3 separate regions of the Homo sapiens genome follow, and all the other regions are linked to region 3. Evidence: promoter capture Hi-C in human tissues and cell types (Jung and others, 2019). All regions are on one chromosome and are shown on one strand. Each heading gives the region's core, a stretch centred on a gene start or on the middle of the fragment in contact. The rest is flanking DNA. Distances are from core to core; before and after follow the strand shown. Region 1 overlaps LOC101928551 (a long non-coding RNA gene). Region 2 holds the start of LINC02268 (long intergenic non-protein coding RNA 2268). Region 3 holds the start of HPGD (15-hydroxyprostaglandin dehydrogenase).

Evidence for each region. Contacts are between HindIII fragments. The study calls those that stand out against the background at their distance.
Region 1: a contact is called between a fragment that was not itself captured here and the fragment with the promoter of HPGD in region 3, in 1 of the 25 tissues and cell types used here (H1 embryonic stem cells).
Region 2: a contact is called between a fragment that was not itself captured here and the fragment with the promoter of HPGD in region 3, in 1 of the 25 tissues and cell types used here (hippocampus).

The regions. Positions count from the first base shown.
Region 1 is chr4:174,832,975-174,835,674 of GRCh38, reverse strand. It overlaps LOC101928551 (a long non-coding RNA gene), which reads right to left. Exons shown (of 5, transcript NR_125900.1): 2 at 738-826. Among named protein-coding and RNA genes, the nearest start is that of GLRA3, 5.1 kb to the right of the region's middle. The HindIII fragment of the contact is 4,065 bases long and covers 1-2,700 here.
Region 2 is chr4:174,219,364-174,222,063 of GRCh38, reverse strand. It overlaps LINC02268 (long intergenic non-protein coding RNA 2268), which reads left to right and starts at 1,666. Exons shown (of 5, transcript NR_125896.1): 1 at 1,666-1,750. The HindIII fragment of the contact is 5,450 bases long and covers 1-2,700 here.
Region 3 is chr4:174,521,238-174,523,737 of GRCh38, reverse strand. It overlaps HPGD (15-hydroxyprostaglandin dehydrogenase), which reads left to right and starts at 1,250. Exons shown (of 7, transcript NM_000860.6): 1 at 1,250-1,379; 2 at 1,671-1,794. The coding sequence starts at 1,287. It overlaps LOC105377548 (a long non-coding RNA gene), which reads right to left and starts at 1,125. Exons shown (of 7, transcript XR_007058492.1): 1 at 609-1,125; 2 at 317-353. The HindIII fragment of the contact is 5,489 bases long and covers 1-2,500 here.

The DNA.
Region 1 (2,700 bases), core at 1-2,500, 310 kb before region 3:
TACATAAACACCCTTGATATCTGATCAAATTCCTTATTCCTTACCCTCAATATCTTGTCATGCTGGTTTACCTTCAATAAAAATCCTGTCAAGTCAGTGTAAGAAGAATCCCCTTATCCCTGATGTTTTCTCTTAGTAACTTTTCATTCACCAGCCCCTACTCCTTGACCATAGATTCGCACTTGTTCCTCTTGTAATCAGAGTCAAGACCAATGTCTCTACCACACTATAAGACCCATTGCAACAATCCCTATACCTATTGCAATATTCTCCCTTGAATAAGCTCTTCCATATTGTCTCTAAAGAGTGTCTTGAATATTTTTTAACATGTTACAATTGTAAAAATTCTAGTATAATGGATAATATTAACTTATTTTTCATAAACAAGGCACTCTCCTGAGGCAGGAGAATCATCTGAACCTGGGAGGCACATGTCTCAGTGAGCTGAGATCGCACCACTGCACTCCAGCCTGGGCAACACAGTAATACTCTGTATCAAAAATAAATAAATAAATAAAGTGCTCTTAGAGTGAACTGAGGGCACACATAAAAACTCCAAAGTTGCTTTTCGATCGCCAAAGAAAACACACTACAACCTAGAGATCTTAAATAATTTTATGAAGAGAGAATGGGTTAAAAAGCTTAGTAAGCATGGAATTTAAAAAAGGGTTAACCAAAGAACAAAGAATATTTATGCACTCAATCATTGATTTAAAGTATATTTACCGACCACTTACCACATGCCAGACACTGTTAGACACAAACATGTATTTTCCTCATCTTCATGGAGTATTCAAACAAGGGCAAACATCAAATTATATTTCATCTGTGAAGAAAAAAACACCATGAATTAAAAGTAAAGGGGAAATTTTGTTATATATTGTGCTCAAGAAAGAAACTGATAGCCGTACTGTGAGTTAAAGGCTGAAAGGTAACCAAAGATAGAAAGCCCAAGAGGACAGGTGTTTAAAGTAGACAAATTCTGAGAAAAGAAACAGCTCATGTGACTGATACATAGTGGGGAAAAGGGAAACCAGTAAAGAAAAAAAAAGTCTAAGCAATTTTGAGCAAGAAGAACAAAGCTGACGGTATCACACTCCCTGATTTGAACATGTATTACAAAACTAGTTATTGAAACAAGGCACTGGCATAAAAACACACATACAGACCAGTTGAGTAGAACAGAGAGCCCATAAATAAACCGATGCATATAAGGTCAACTGATCTTCCACAAAGGTGCCAAGAATACACAATGAGGGAAAGATAGTCTGTTCAATGAATGGTTTTGGAAAAATCAAAATTCAACACACAAAAAAATGAAATTGGACTTGATCTCCCGCTATATGCAAAAATCAACTCAATATGGATTAAAGGCTTAACTGTAAAACATAAAACAATACAAGTCCTGGAAGAAAACATTGGAGAAAATCTTCTACAAATTAGACTGGGCAATGATTTCTTGGATATGACACTAAAGCACAGGAAAAAAAAAGCAGGGATAAACAAGTGGGATTACATCTAATGAAAAAGCTTCTGCACAGCAAAGGAAGCAGTTAGCAAAATGAAAAAGTAAATTATAGAATGAGAGTAAATATTTGCAGACCACGTATCTGAAAAGTGGTTAATATCTAAAATGTATAATAAACTCAAACAACTCAATAGCAATAAAACAACCCAAACAAAAAATGGACAAGGGAACTGAATAGACATTTCTCAAAAGAAGACATAAAACAGCCAATAAGTATATGAAAAATGGCTTTTACCAGTCATCAGGAAAATACAAATTAAAACCACAATGAGATATCAGCTCATATTTGTTAAGTTGGCTATTATCAAAAAACAAAGGGCATGTGTTGGCTAGGATGTAGAGAAAAGAGAACACTTTACACTGTTGATGGGAATGTAAATTGGTAAAGCCACTATGGAAAACAAGATGAAGATTACTCAAACATTAAAACTAAAATTACCATTTGATCCAGAAATCCTACTTCTGAGTGCATATCTAAAGGAATTGAAATTAGTTTGTTGAAGAGATATCTGCACTTCCATGTTCACTGCAACATTATTCACAGTAGTCAAGATATGGAAACAACCTCTGTGTCCATTGGTGGATGAATGGATAAAGAAATCAGTTGTGACACCATGACTCATGGTAATATATATACACGCAGGAAAGTTATTTAGCCTTAAAAAAAGAAGAAAACCTGAACATTTGTGACATCATGAATGGACCTGAAGGACATTATGTTAAGAGAAATAAGCCAGTCAACAGAAGGATAAATACTATATGATCTCACGTATATGTGGAGTCTAAAACAGTCAAACTCACAGAAACAGAGTAAAGGGTTGGTTATCAGAGGATAGGGGAGGAGTAAACTGGGGAAGGATTGGACAAAAGGTCTAAAGTTTCAGTTATACAAGACAAAAAATTTTTGAATATCTCCTGCACAGCAAAGGGCCTATGATTAACAATGCTGTATTGTATACTTTAAAATTTGTTAAGAAGATAAATCTTACGTTAAATGCTCTTACCACAGAAAGAAAAAACAAAACAATCAAAAGAGTGGGAGAAAACTTTGGGAGGTCATGGATAGGATTATAGCATTGATTGTGTTGACGGTTTCAAAGGTGTATTCTTATCTCCGAACACATTAAGATGTATACGTTAAATATCTACAGCTTTTTGAACATCGATCATCT
Region 2 (2,700 bases), core at 137-2,636, 300 kb after region 3:
GAGGCCAAGGCAGGCGGATCACTTGAAGTCAGGAGTTCAAGACCAGCCTGGCCAAAATGGTGAAACCCCTGTCTCTACTAGAAACACCAAAATTAGCTGGTGTGGTGGTGGGCACCTTTAATCCCAGCTACTCAGAAGGCTGAGGCAGGAGAATCTCTTGAATCCGTGAAGTGGAGGCTGCAGTGAGCCGAGATCATGCCACTGCACTCCAGCCCGGGCAACTCCAGTCTGGTCAACAGAGTGAGACTCTGTCTCCAAACAAACAAACAAAAAACAAAACAAAAGCAAACAACAACAAAAAGAGATGTCATTATTGCTCTGTGTAGACAAATCATCCAGATAATTTAATTTAGCCATTGAGAGCCTACCCTTCTTTCTTCCAAGATATCCCAAATAAAACTAACTGTAAAAGCAAATATCCTTGCTCCTTTGTCTAGACACCATTGCTACTTTCATTCTTGCTTTGGGCTGTGATGCTTGCTACTCCCTTTTTCTGCTGTCCCAAATTATGAAGCCCTTTTATTCATTTAAAAAGAATACCTATGCATATGTATAAATATATATATATATTTTTCCTTTTTCTAAATAACATTTTATTCATTTTGACCATGTGACTCATTCGTATGGTCAATGAGCCCAAGGTGTTGATGACTCTTAAACATGTTTCTCCTAGCATAAATATTGGTGGCAAAAAGCAGAATAATGATCATAGTTTTGAAATAGAGAATACCATTAATGTCTTTGATTTTTGAAAATGATATTTTAAAAAACAAACATGACTATGTCGTGATACCTTAAAATTCAGGCTGAAAACAATTTATTAGGTAATCCACTTCAGGTTTCTTTTGCAGGAGGATTATTTTCCATTTTCTTATGGATTATTTTCCATTTTCTTGCTAAAATCAGCAAAACATATATACATATAACAATATACCACTAGTTCATTAAAAGAACTTATTCTTTTTGTTCTCAAATCAAGCTCATTTTAGATTGACAATATCTTAATGCATTTTAGGAATATATTGTCAAGATTAAAATCTTACTTTTTATTAGCTGAAGTTGTATATATTCATTATATAAAACTGACTTATGTTGCATAGAATTAAAACCCTCCCCAGAGTTCATAGTTTTAAACAAATATGCATACATATCCAAATACATATTAAATCCAAAGCAAACAATAACTTTATGTTGACAGTGAAAAATGCAACCTTACATACATAGTCTACAAAACAACTGAAAAATTTTAAATGCCAGATATGAGGAAGCCAAAGAATTTTAACAATGAGAAATATGTTATGAATTAAAATATTCAATCTTGAAAACCTTTAAAAGTGAAAGTTGCACTGTAACTGCTTTCTAAGGTAATTTTTGCCACTTTTAGGAAAAAAGATGTTTACGTAACATTTTTAAAAGTACAATCATTTCTTACATAGCTTTATGATTGAGGATAACATTAGTATGCACATACAACATAACACACAAAAGCAAAGCTTAGAATAACATTTTAATTATGTTTTAGTGTATGTGAAATAATTTGTTTTTCTCAATTATATTCCTGGGTCAAGGCCTAAAACATTTATTTGAACCAGCTATATATCTTATTTTCATAAGGGTCTCAGGAGGCAGTAGTCATATGTTGTTACTTCAGCCCTCCACAAAGGCAATACAGTACAGATCTCTGTACTGTAAACGACAACAAGGACCAGTCACAATTTCAGTTCTTGTTACATTGATAAGACTCCTTCAGGTAAGAGATTAAAACATGCCTTTATTATTATAAGGTTAGTGACCATTTTAATGGAATAAAAAGATTATTCCTGTTGCATTGGAGATAGGAAATTTGGGATGTGAATGTATGAGGTAGGTGTCTTTTCTCTCTTGTGCCTGTATTGTTCAAAAGCTCTTTGACATTAGAAAAAGGTTAGCTCTATAATCTTAATATTAATATTTAGTATAAAATCTATGGAGAACACACATTATACAGGGAGCCAAAAAGTTCAACTCTTTTTTTAATGGAGAGAAGGTAAGTAGGTGATCTTCACAGACTAAGAGGTTTTGCCTTTTAACACCAACAACATAATACTATTTATATTTGCTCTATCATTGTGATTAACCTACCTTCCCCTTCCAAAAAAACACACTTAGCTTACTCACCTAACAGTAATGACATATATCATTTTAAAAACAAAGAATAGTTTCAAAATTAATTTTTTCTACCTAATGTGCGTGACTGATGTTGAAAAGTTAGTGAGGGTTACCCATATATTCACACATGTAAATTGTGGAAATAAGAGAGAGAGAAAAAACTCAACAGATATAATCTGTAAAGCTGTCAAAAGACTTTCAAATAGCGAATTCCTTCAGATCATATATTTCAATAGAAGTTGCTGTTTAAATAGAGGTCTCTCATTTGGTGGGAGGAGCTTTTAAAAGAAAAAATACTTGAAGATAAGTAATATTACCTTTGCCATTTGTTATGAAATAAATATATCATGAGGAGTTATGCTTCATTAAAATGTAATACTTATAGATGACAGTTTCATATGGTCAGATATAAAATGTATATATGTTTTACCAGGAAGATTATACAGTATTTTTAATCTTGATTTTTCATGACTTCTTGCAAATATGCATTTATTGCTTTCCAAACCATGCCTGGGAATGAAGGAGAAAAAATTGTTTTATCCGAAGAGTTAG
Region 3 (2,500 bases), core at 1-2,500:
TTTCCCAGTAAAGAAGGTAAAGAAGATATAAAAATGATTCATTCTGCTGTTAGTGTCAGTCTTTTGCTCAACTCCCATTTCCCCCAAGTATTTAGATTTTTTTTTTCTTTAAGAAAATAAATGCCAGCTGGGCATAGTGGCTCATGCCTGTAATCTTAGCACTCTTTGGGAGTCCAAGGTGGGAGGGTCGCTTGAGCCCTGGAGATTGAGGTTGCAGCGAGCTGGGATTATGCCACTGCATTCTAGCCAAACAGACAGAGCGAGATCTTGTCTCAAGATTAAAAAAAAAAAAAAAAAAAAAAAGCCAACCACTTACGTTTACAGAATTAAAATTGCAGCCTGCCGCTGACAACCTGAGAAAAAGAGACAAAGTCAGTGGAATAGCCCTTGTTATTTATGCAAGTCCGCATACAGCTAGCCCTGGAGTTCCTGGAGAGCAAGGAACCTCTGTCCCAAACTTGACTCAGAGCTTCCAAAGTTGGTGTATTTCAACAAGTAAGCATTCCATTGAGCCAACAATTTGGTAGGCTACCAGCGGCTCTGGAGCGCCTGTTGATGATGACAGTTTTTGTGGGGGCATCTCAATATGACACACAATTGACACTGACCAGAAACACAGCGCCAAGGACACTCTAGTCCTAGCCATGAAATGTTATGATTCCAGGTTTTCAGGACAGAGCAGAGTCCACTTCTCATCTCCAGTATCCGTAAAAATTTGTCCAAAATGTAACTAAGAAAACACAATGATATTAGTTACTTCTGCTCCCCGTCACCCTCAACCCCACTGATTACGAGATGGGAACTCACACAAAACTTTGAGACAAAAGAGCAACAAGTTTGCTTTATTGTTTGCTTGTTTTGTTCCGGAGTCGGGGCCGGGAGGGAGTGCAGGAGGAGGGATCCAAGCTTCCAAGCCTCTGCTCCGCTCTCCTTCTATCCAGTTGGTCTTTAGGGCACTGAAGGAAACTCTTCTTCAGAAATAACCTTTTAACTTTTCTTCTGTCAGCTGCCTGCCAATCACGGAGCCAGAGGCTGAGGGGAGGCTTTGAGCCGGTCTGCGAGTCCGGAAGGCAAAGATCGCGAAGCTTGGCGCTCCAGAACGCTCAGGGGGCAGGTGACACAGTCGTGGGTTCCCCGGCGGGCGCTGGCTTGACAGTTTCCTCCCCGCCCACTGGCAGGGGAGCGCCCCGCCGGGCTGCACGCGCGCGCGCGCAGGGGGGCATAAAAGCCGCGGCCGCGCGGAGACGCGGAGCTCGCCCACCGCCCGCCCCAGCAGTGGCTGCACCATGCACGTGAACGGCAAAGTGGCGCTGGTGACCGGCGCGGCTCAGGGCATAGGCAGAGCCTTTGCAGAGGCGCTGCTGCTTAAGGGCGCCAAGGTAAGCCCGGCGCCCAGCCGCGGAAATTTCTCTGCCCACACACTCCGAGACTCGCCCCGCCGCCCGAGGTGCACTGGCGGAGACAGGGAGGCCGCGCCCGGCGTGCCCACTTTGCCACTTCCAAAATTTGCTGAAGCTGAGGCTGTGAGCACACCTCAGAAGTGGCTGGGAGGGAACCCAAACCTAATTGCCAAATTTCAGGTCCAGGAGGGGAGCCTCTTGTGTGTTTATTGTTTGTCCGTCTATTTCGTGAGCTGCGCAGGCCCGCGATTCCTCTCCTCTTGTCTATAGGTAGCGCTGGTGGATTGGAATCTTGAAGCAGGTGTACAGTGTAAAGCTGCCCTGGATGAGCAGTTTGAACCTCAGAAGACTCTGTTCATCCAGTGCGATGTGGCTGACCAGCAACAACTGAGAGGTAAGACAGGGGAATCAATCTGTCAACTGGGAACGTGCTCTCAACAAGCAACAACCTGAAGGCAGCCCGGCCAGGGGGCCCTGGGTGCCGCCTCCGCTGCCTCCTCGAGAGCAGCTACCTTGAAGCTCCAAAAGACAGTTTGGACTGATACGTTTCCTTCTGACAGCCCAATAGCTGTAAAACCGAAAGAAAGGCAAGACTGCTGGAGAAATCCTTTTATTGTAGTCATTTGGCAGCATTAATGTAATCAAAATTCCTTTATGTATTCAAAGACAGTGCTGCTGCAGTAATTATTAAATGATTGAAATTGCAGACAAAACTTGGAAAATTAAAGTAGGTTAAGTAAGGTACTGTTGACAAACAACTTCTCCCAGAAAGCTGGAGTCCAATGACAATCAAATGTGGCAGTGTTTTTCGTTTAAACATATCAGAATACAAGTTCAAGGAGCATCATCACAGAAGTGCTAGATGCTTTTGACCATATGTTTTCTCCGGCTTTTTCCCCAATGAGACAGTACTTTAAAATAATAATAATAGTAATCATAATAAAGTATACAATGTTAGAATTGTAGTAGAAACATCTCTATCAGCCTTTCCTCAATGCTTTCCTGTTTCCGGCTACTCACTTAAAATAGACCAATCTACTTGTGAAGTATCAGGGACAATATTGGCATACACAATAAACAGCTTTGATTATAAAGCTGTT